Regions from separate parts of the Homo sapiens genome. Here region 2 is linked to region 1. Evidence: promoter capture Hi-C in 16 types of primary human blood cells and fetal thymus (Javierre and others, 2016). All regions are on one chromosome and are shown on one strand. Each heading gives the region's core, a stretch centred on a gene start or on the middle of the fragment in contact. The rest is flanking DNA. Distances are from core to core; before and after follow the strand shown. Region 1 holds the start of TMEM202 (transmembrane protein 202). Region 2 overlaps ARIH1 (ariadne RBR E3 ubiquitin protein ligase 1).

Region 1 (5,079 bases), core at 1,054-3,553:
AATAATAATCTTAAGGATGAAATTTTAGCCTGGGCACCCAGTTACATAAATATGATTGCAGCTTAATCTTTTTGCCTAAACCTTTTAATCCATTTCTAGTTATTTCCTTGGAATTAATTTCTAGAAATGGAATTATTTACTCAAAGGAGATGAACATTTTTAAGTCTCTGGATACACCTAATCATATTGCTTTAGTTATACCAATTTGCATGGCATGTACAGGAATGCGTATGGGAGTGATAGCAGTTGCATTATCATTTAAAAATCTGTTAATATGGTGGTTGAAAAGTTACATCTTGTTATTCATTTGATTTACCTTTCTTTAATGATTGAGGTTAAATTATTTTTCCTATGTTTATTAGATAGTTATAGTTCTTCTTTTGTGCATGTCTGTTCAAAAAGAACTTATTTATTTGAGTTTGTGTCTTTGTAATACTTTGTGTATCCTTTTACTATATTAAGGCCATTAACCTTTATCTTTCATAATTGTTGCAAATATTTTCTCTAGTTTTCGTTTTATGCAGTTGAATTGTCTGTCTGCCTTTGATTTTAGTTTCTTCTCAAGATCATGCAGGATACTGTCCCTTAATATCAAATGTCACAGCCCATGGCCAAACAACTGATGCTGTACCTCAGAGTTGGGCACAGGTGCTCCCCTCCTGCTTATGTGAGGAGAATAGATGGGACCCCTGCTTATGTGATGAGAATAGATGCTTTACTCACATATGTTTTCTTTCACAATACCCACTTCTTTGTGTAAATGTATATCTTGCGGGTTATGGGAAAACTGTCAGTGTAATGATATCTTTCCTCTAAGTTTTTGGTTTGATTGAAAAATTCATGCATATGTTATTTTTAGCCCCAAAAACTTATTTTAAAATATTTTGTGTTGCACTTTCAGATTTATTTAAATTCACATAAAATTTGACATAAATAACATTATCTTCATAGCTGGCATTTGTTATACCACATATCTAACGTACATTTAAGTTCTATTCCACTGCTAGGAGAAGAACAAGCTGACCTTGAAAGTTAAATCTAATAGAGGTTAAGATATTTGCTTTATCTTCCAGCTATGATCAATCACTTCTCTTCTAATTCTGCAAGCCACATTAGAATACCAATCACATTGCTTAGCAGTAACACCTTGTAAATGAGTTATTCCTAGGGCAGGCATGGTGGCTTACACCTATAGTCCTGGTACTTTGGGAGGATCACTTGAGGCCAGGACTTTGAGACCAGCCTGGGAAATATAATGAGAACTTGTCTCTACAAAAGAAAAAAAAATTTAAAAAAATTAAAAATTAGCCAGGAGTGTTGGCACACATCTGTAGTTCCACCTACTCAGGAGGTTGAACAGGAAGATTGCTTGAGTCCTGGAGGTGGAGGCTGCAGTGAGCAATGATAGTGCTTTTGCACTTCGGCTAGGCGTTAGAGCAAGAGCCTGTCTCGAAAAACCAACCAACAAACAAAAACAGTTCTTCCCATAAAGAGAGTATAACCCATTATTTAGGACAGGAAACAACCTGGAATAGGAGAGAGAAAGGGCACACTGAGGATACCAAAGAAAGATCCATCCTGCACTTGGAGAGGTGAAGGCCAAAAGATCTTGGAGGAAGAAACATGAAGGGCCAATTTGTGTGAGCAGAAAGCTCTGCAATTGTGTGGGGCCTGTGGCATTTAATTCGGTGGCACTCACAGGGTGGCTTGGGTGTGTGGCTCCAGCACAGCTCATGGTTGCATAAGGTCCAGAGTCCTGCGTAGAGCTCAAGGCCATTCTTGATCACCAGAAACTGTACCCAGTTCAGTGGGGACATGGCGATCAGCATTAGGAGGCTAAAACTACAGAGGCTGCCACAGAGCGTTCGGATGTAGATGTGTGCCTGATCCATAAGCTGCTGCTGCCTTTGGCATGACATCGAGGCACTTGGATGTTTCTTGGCAGGGACGGTAGGCTACAAGGATGAGGGAAATATTGCCTACCCGAAAGAATAACCCCTGATCCCCAGGGTCACCCGCTCTTCTCTACCTCAAGCATTCCCATGTGTGTTTGATTTATAGATATTTTTCCCTACTCCTAAAAAAAAAAAACCCCACAATTTTCAGGGTGATCTTTTCTGTCTTTAGGATGCTCTGTGTAGCCCTGCCTTTAAGTAAGTTCTCTTCTTCCCATCTGACTTTCAATTAGATACCTCCTCACCCTTTGGTATTTCCGGTTCCCCTTTATTTTGGGAACCTCAGGACTGTGGAAAGTCAAGGTTAAATGTTCCCTTCGCTCCATCTTGGCAGTTAGTTCTCTAACTGCCACGGAATTTGTCTCTGCATCTCCTCACACATGCTGGCAGAAGCAAAAAGGGCCAGGACCCATGGCATAGATCCTGTTTCTGTTTTATATTTTTGATCTGGTCAGATCAGGAAGAAATCACCACATTTTAAGCATGTGCATGTATGTGTGATGCTCCCCACCCTCCATTCTCCACCTACTCCCAACTCTTTTATTAAATAAATCCACAAACATTTTGTTAGCAGTGGCTGTGTGTCAGGCTTTGTGCTAGCTTCTGGGACACAAAAATAAATAAGACACAGTTCCCTCATAGCAAATAAAAAAAGGGGAACTCATATGCTTGTTGGCCACATGTGTTTCTTCTTTTGAAAAGTGTTCATGCCCTTTGCCCACTTTTTAATGGGGTTATTTGTCTTTTTCTTGTAAATTTATTTGAGTTCCTTACAGATGCTGGATATTAGACCTTTGTCAGATGCATAGTTTGCAAAAAAATTTTCCCTTTCTGTAGGTTTTCTGTGTACGCTATTGATAGTTTCTTTTGCTATGCAGAAGCTCTTTAGTTTAATTAGATCCCATTTGTCAATTTTTGCTTTTGTTGCAATTGCTTTTTGCATCTTCATCATGAAATCTTTGCTGGTTTCTATGTTCAGATCATTAGAGAAATTAATCTTTGTATTTTTTTTTTAATTTTTTTATTTTTTTATTGATCATTCTTGGGTGTTTCTCGCAGAGGGGGATTTGGCAGGGTCATAGGACAATAGTGGAGGGAAGGTCAGCAGATAAACAAGTGAACAAAGGTCTCTGGTTTTCCTAGGCAGAGTGTTTGTGTCCCTGGGTACTTGAGATTAGGGAGTGGTGATGACTCTTAACGAACATGCTGCCTTCAAGCGTCTGTTTAACAAAGCACATCTTGCACCGCCCTTAATCCATTTAACCCTGAGTGGACACAGCACATGTTTCAGAGAGCACAGGGTTGGGGGTAAGGTCATAGATCAACAGGATCCCAAGGCAGAAGAATTTTTCTTAGTACAGAACAAAATGAAAAGTCTCCCATGTCTACTTCTTTCTACACAGACACAGCAACCATCCGATTTCTCATTCTTTTTCTCACCTTTCCCCCTTTTCTATTCCACAAAACCGCCATTGTCATCATGGCCCGTTCTCAATGAGCTGTTGGGTACACCTCCCAGACGGGGTGGTGGCCGGGCAGAGGGGCTCCTCACTTCCCAGTAGGGGCGGCCAGGCAGAGGCGCCCCTCACCTCCCGGACGGGGCGGCTGGCCGGGCGGGGGGCTGACCCCCCACCTCCCTCCCGGACGGGGCGGCTGGCCGGACAGAGGGGCTCCTCACTTCCCAGTAGGGGCGGCCGGGCAGAGGCGCCCCTCACCTCCCGGACGGGGCGGCTGGCCGGGCAGGGGGCTGACCCCCCACCTCCCTCCCGGACGGGGCTGCTGGCCGGGCAGAAGGGCTCCTCACTTCCCAGTAGGGGCGGCCGGGCAGAGGTGCCCCTCACCTCCCGGACGGGGCGGCTGGCCGGGTGGGGGGCTGACCCCCCACCTCCCTCCCGGACGGGGCGGCTGGCCTGGCGGGGGCTGACCCCCACCTCCCTCCCGGACAGGGTGGCTGCTGGGCGGAGACGCTCCTCACTTCCCAGACGGGGTGGCAGCAGGGCGGAGGGGCTCCTCACTTCTCAGACGGGGCGGTTGCCAGGCGGGGGGTCTCCTCACTTCTCAGACAGGGCAGCTGGGCAGAGACGCTCCTCACCTCCCAGACAGGGTCGCGGCCAGGCCGAGGCGCTCCTCACATCCCAGACGGGGCAGCAGGGCAGAGGCGCTCCCCACATCTCAGACGATGGGCGGCCGGGCAGAGACGCTCCTCACTTCCTAGATGGGATAGCGGCCGGGAAGAGGCGCTCCTCACTTCCTAGGTGTGATGGCGGCCGGGCAGAGACACTCCTCACTTTCCAGACTGGGCAGCCAGGCAGAGGGGCTCCTCACATCCCGGACGATGGGCGGCCAGGCAGAGACGCTCCTCACTTCCCAGACGGGGTGGCGGCCGGGCAGAGGCTGCAATCTCGGCACTTTGGGAGGCCAAGGCAGGCGGCTGGGAGGTGGAGGTTGTAGCGAGCCGAGATCACGCCACTGCACTCCAGCCTGGGCACCATTGAGCACTGAGTTAACGAGACTCCGTCTGCAATCCCGGCACCTCGGGAGGCCGAGGCTGGCGGATCACTCGCGGTCAGGAGCTGGAGACCAGCCCGGCCATCACAGCGAAACCCCGTCTCCACCAAAAAAATACGAAAACCAGTCAGGCGTGGCGGCGCGCGCCTGCAATTGCAGGCACTCGGCAGGCTGAGGCAGGAGAATCAGGCAGGGAGGTTGCAGTGAGCCGAGATGGCAGCAGCACAGTCCAGCTTCGGCTCGGCATGAGAGGGAGACTGTGGAAAGAGAGGGAGAGGGAGACCGTGGAAAGAGGGGAGAGGGAGAGGGAGACCGTGGAAAGAGGGGAGAGGGAGAGGGAGAGGGAGACCGTGGAAAGAGAGGGAGAGGGAGAGGGAGACCGTGGAAAGAGGGGCAGATCATTAGAGAAATTAAAACCACAATGAGATACCATCTCACACCAGTCAGAATGGCTACTATAAAAAGTCAAAAAAATAACAGACTGTGGCGAGGTTGTGGAGAAAAAGGAACACATACACTGTTGATGGGAGTGTAAATTATTAATTCAAACATTGTGGAAAGCAGTGTGATGATTCCTCAAAGACATGAAGACAGAAAGAACTACCATTTGACCCAG
Region 2 (5,079 bases), core at 1,044-3,543, 150 kb before region 1:
ACAAATGCTTGGAGAGTAGTAAAATGTGGGAGTTATACAATGTAAGTGAAGAACTCACTCATCCAATAATAAAACTTTATGAAGAGTTTCAGGTGACATTTACTTCCAAAACTGAAGAGGTTAAAATTATCCTTCTATATGAGTCTAAAAATTATGAGGAAAGGACATCCTAGTTTTGTCATGATACTTTTCGGAACACTTAGCAGTTTCCATAATGCCTTACCTTACTTGCCAACCCATGTTGTTCCTTTTGCTATCTTATCCTATCACTTGCATAGTGAAATTTCTTGTAAAAGAGTAATTTCATTACATTTATTGCTTCCATTTCCTTTCCCACCTTCAAGTCAGTGACTCTTTAGCCCATGAAGTCTGGTTTCCCATCCTACCTCACTCCTTCATTTCATTTCAAATTAACTTTTTAAATCTTTTCTCTGAATCTTTTAGTACTATTTACCATCCCCCAGTTCTTGAAAGTACATTCTCTCTTCCTTGGACTTGCTACATTTTCCTCCTTAGCCTAACTACCATGCCTTCAGATGTTAGTTCAGATTTCTGTGGTAAGTCCTGCCTGATCAAAAACTGGGTTAGGTATCCCTCCAACACGTTCCCACAGTATCGTATCTTATATTTGCCCTACCAAAGCACTTACCACTCTTTCTGAATATGTCACCTTACTACTTATCTACCCAACTAACCTGCAAATTATCTGGTTAGGAATTATGTATTTATTCTCCATTGTTTCTTAGAATAGTGCCTAGTGTGTTCAATGAATAGGTTTCTCCATCATCAGTTACAAGTACAAAACAAAAATTTACACTGTAAATCTCAAGTCATGATTTTGAATTCTAGTTTGTTGAGATTGTTAGACCATATTAAGAACAGCGAGAAAGTTATAGTGGATATTTGGAAGCAGCCAAGCTTCAGTACTCAAATCAGAGTTAAGATTTAAGTTAAGAAGGAACTGTCTATGATAGGGCAGGAGGAAAAACGCCAAGAAGTAAGGAAACCTTGTAAAACCTGGGTCTTAGTATTACCTCACAGAAACATTTAACTGTAAGCACTATATAAATGTCAACTGGCAAGGAGAATCTGTTAAAGACAATAAAATAGTCAAAATATTAATATATTGTAACAGTAGTACTTTTTAAAAAATATTCAAATTAGAATTGTGATTTAAGGTAAGAGAAATGATACAATACTCAGGTTGGAAGAAAATTGAAAGAGTATCTTATTCAACTCATCAGAAAGAAAAAAGAAACTGTTGGGTGCGGTGGTGCACACCTGTAATCCCAGCACTATGGGAGGCCAAGGTGGGTGGATCACCTGAGGTCAGGAGTTCAAGACCAGCCTGGCCAATATGGTGAAACCCCGTCTCTACTAAAAATACAAAAATTAGCCGGGTGTGGTGGCCGGCGCTTGTAGTCCCAGCTACTCGGGAGGCTGAGGCAGGAGAATCACTTGAACCCAGGAGGCGCAGGCTGCAGTGAGCCAAGACTGTGCCATTGCACTCCAGTCTGGGCAACAAGAGCAAAACTCGTGTCAAAAAAAAAAGAGAAAAGGAAAGAGGCCAGGCGCGGTGGCTCACGCCTGTAATCCCAGCACTTTGGCATGCTGAGGCGGGCAGATCATGAGGTCAGGAGATCGAGACCATCCTGGCTAACATGGTGAAACCCCGTCTCTACTAAAAACACAAAAAATCAGCCAGGCGTGATGGCAGACGCCTGTAGTCCCAGCTACTCGGGAGGCTGAGGCAGGCGAATGGCATGAACCTGGGAGGCGGAGCTTGCAGTGAGCCGAGATCGCACCACTGCACTCCAGCCTGGGCGACAGAGCAAGACTCCGTCCCACCCCCCCCCCTCCAAAAAAAAAGAAAAGAAAAGAAAAGGAGAAGAAACCAAAACTGGAGGAGCGTGGTGGCTCACACCTATAATGCCAGCACTTTCAGAGGCCAGGTGGGCAGACTGCTTGAGCTCAGACAAGTTCCAGACCAGCCTGGGCAACATGGTGAAACCCCGTCTCTACAAAAAAACCAAAACAAACAAACAAACAAAACACACACACACAGGTGAAACCCCGTCTCTACAAAAAAAACAAACAAACAAAACAAAACAAACAAAACACACACACACACACACAGAAAAATCAGCCAGACATGGTGGCATGCGCCTGTGGTCCCAGCTACTTGGGAGGCTGAGGTGGGAGGATCGCTTGAGCCCAGGAGTTTGAGGCTGCAGTGATCACATCACTGCACTCCAGCCTAGACAACAGAGCAAGGCCGTCTCAAAAGAAAGAAAGAAAAAAGAAAAACCCAGTGACATTAAATGGCTTACCTCCCGCTAAAGCCAAAAATTTCACGTTAGAGTTACGATCAGAACTTGAGAATTTGAAAATTCAGTTCACCACTTTACCTACTAAATAACTCACTGATCATTCTATTTCTCTAAGAGTACTTTATTTTCTTTTAAAACTTTTCTCATCACTTGTACATGTGAACAAGTTAACTCCCCACAAATGGACCCCATTAGAGATACACATATACAACTCTAAGATAAACAATAAAAATCCTTCAATATAAATATAATATTAGCCAGGCTTGATGGTGCACGTCTGTAGTTCCAGCTACTTGGGAGGCTGAGGGAAAAGGATCACTTGAGCCCAAGAGTCTGATGAAGGCTGTAGTACACTGACTGTGCCTGTGAATAGCCATAACACTCCAGCCTGGGTAGCATAGTGAGACCCCCATCAACCAAATAATTGTTAAAATAACAGTGTCAAAGACTTGTTATATAGTAATTATTAGAAAGAGATGCTTAACTATTAAAGCAGAGAATATGAACAAGACAGTTGTAATTATCATAGAATTAAGTTATCTTAGACATCTTAAGACTAAACTTCCTTAGTAAACACTCAAGTAAATCAAGTAAGTAAATCATCTCAGTTCAGTAAATTCTATTTTATATTTTGAGACGGAGTCTCACTCTGTCGCCCAGGCTGGAATACAGTGGCATGATGTCAGCTCACTGTAACCTCTGCCTTCCAGGCTCAAGCAATTCTCATGCCTCAGCCTCCCAAGTAGCTGGGATTATAGACATGCACCATCATGCCAGGATAATTTTTTTGTATTTTTAGTTGAGACAGGTTTCCGCCATGTTGGCCAGGCTGGCCTCAAACTCCTGGCCTCAAGTGATCTGCCCACCTTGGCTTCCCCAAGTGCTGGGATTATAGGCATGAGCCACTGAGTCCAGCTTCAGTTCAATAAATTTTTAGGAAGGTTATTTGTACTTAAGGGATTAACATCAGTTCTTTGGTTCTCTTGCTATATCACTGGTTCTGCTCCAACTCTGTCCCCACATACCATATTTAACAATCTCCATTTGAATGGATTTGATTAAGTGAAAATCTTATCTTCTGAAGAATTCTGAGAGTTCCCTAGCAAATAGTATTAACGGTATTTTATGAGTGTTTCTGGATATTTAAAAAACACTTAAAGTTTAAATCTATTTTAATTTGGATGAGAAAGAATTCTACTTACTGCCTACTATTACACAATTCTCCCATGGTGATAGAATAAACTCCAGAAAGATTTAGGTCTATAAATGACAACTTGGACAAGTTGTTGCTGCTTTAAAAAACAAATGGGGGTTGGAGGTAAGAGGAACCAAGCTTTTACTCTTTTTCTTCCTTTCCTCACACTGAATACATTGATAGGTTATGGCTTAGAGGTTACTACTCCCAGACCCACAAATTTTCCTTTGTTTAAATAATGGAAGTTGATTTACCCTCTGAAATACAAAGTCAGCACTAGCCTTAAACTACCAGATACTCACCGAGTTAGGGTAGTTCAAGTAGCAGATCTGACAAGGCATATCCTGTGCTGATGACCTTGTATTCATCTGGCGTGTTCGAGACTTTTTACTTGGATTAATTACATGACACTCAGCAAAGAGCTTCTCCAGGTTTCCATCAAAGTACCTGCATTATTTAAACAGAAAGGATAAGAGCCCAGCAACTTGCACACTGTTAGAGCTCTCCAAAAACCTGACTTTCTATAGGGAAAAGCAAGAAGTTGAATTAAAATAAAACAAGATAACAACCTTTTTATTCAGAGGAAATAAAAGCTACATGGTACAAATTATAGCAAATAAAGGTGTGTGTATACATGTGCATATATATATATATTGCAAACAGCAAAAATTCAGTCTACTCTCATATATATGAGTGTGTGTGTGTGTGTGTGTATGTATGTAAACTAGTAGACTGAGTTTTGCTGCCTTTTTCCCCCTAAACTTTGGTTTTAAATAACTGAATCTTGGGAAATTAAGCTATTAGTATTTTAACAGTACTGCAACTAAAACTTAAGGATTAAAGTTGTGCTGTTGCTGGGGTACCTATGAAGAGTAATATTTTACATGGGTAGGCTGTATTTTATACAAATGAATTCATTTTATTAATAATTTTAGTTAAAGCAATTTAAACATATTAGCTTCAGTAAAGCATTTATCTTACTGCACAAATCATCTTAAAAATATAATTATTACGTGTCTCATTTTACATAATAGACTTGCTTTCTAAACATTATTTTGAAATATTTTTAATTTACTGAGAAAGGAGGAGGAATAAAACAAAGAAGTGTATCTTCAAACATTTTATATAAAATAAATTACATATTAGCTTTTCATAAAATATGTATCTAAATATAGAGTAGTTCCATATCTAAGACATCAAGAGTATATATATGCCAAGTACTACCTAGAGTTTTAACTAAATAGCAAACCTCTGGACAGAAGATAGTAGAGCAGACCTTAAGGTGGGTTGAGGTGGTTAAGATAACAGTAAATACTTAGCACAATGTTTCCAATTAATTCAGATGAGACATGTTCCCTGGCCTCCTGAAACAGCTTACTATTCAAAAGGGAAAAGCAATAGATATTAAAAAAAAAAAAACTTTTCAATCTGTAAAACCAATATAACCAGCAAAAATATTAATGTGCAATCTGGTCAATTACTTTTTGGGTTGTAAAGCCCAGATTACAGTAACTATAATGCTCTTTATATACAAACAGGAGATTTTCAATTTTA

The links. Contacts are between HindIII fragments. The CHiCAGO score rates a contact against its expected background, and 5 or more counts as called.
Region 2: a fragment that was not itself captured here is called in contact with the fragment with the promoter of TMEM202 in region 1 in 2 of 17 cell types (naive B cells and total CD8 T cells); the score reaches 5.4 in naive B cells.

The regions. Positions count from the first base shown.
Region 1 is chr15:72,395,529-72,400,607 of GRCh38, reverse strand. It overlaps TMEM202 (transmembrane protein 202), which reads right to left and starts at 2,303. Exons shown (of 5, transcript NM_001080462.3): 1 at 2,201-2,303; 2 at 1,700-1,955. The coding sequence starts at 2,281. The HindIII fragment of the contact is 10,109 bases long and covers 1-5,079 here.
Region 2 is chr15:72,543,713-72,548,791 of GRCh38, reverse strand. It overlaps ARIH1 (ariadne RBR E3 ubiquitin protein ligase 1), which reads right to left. Exons shown (of 14, transcript NM_005744.5): 3 at 3,828-3,972. Among named protein-coding and RNA genes, the nearest start is that of MIR630, 41 kb to the left of the region's middle. The HindIII fragment of the contact is 2,745 bases long and covers 921-3,665 here.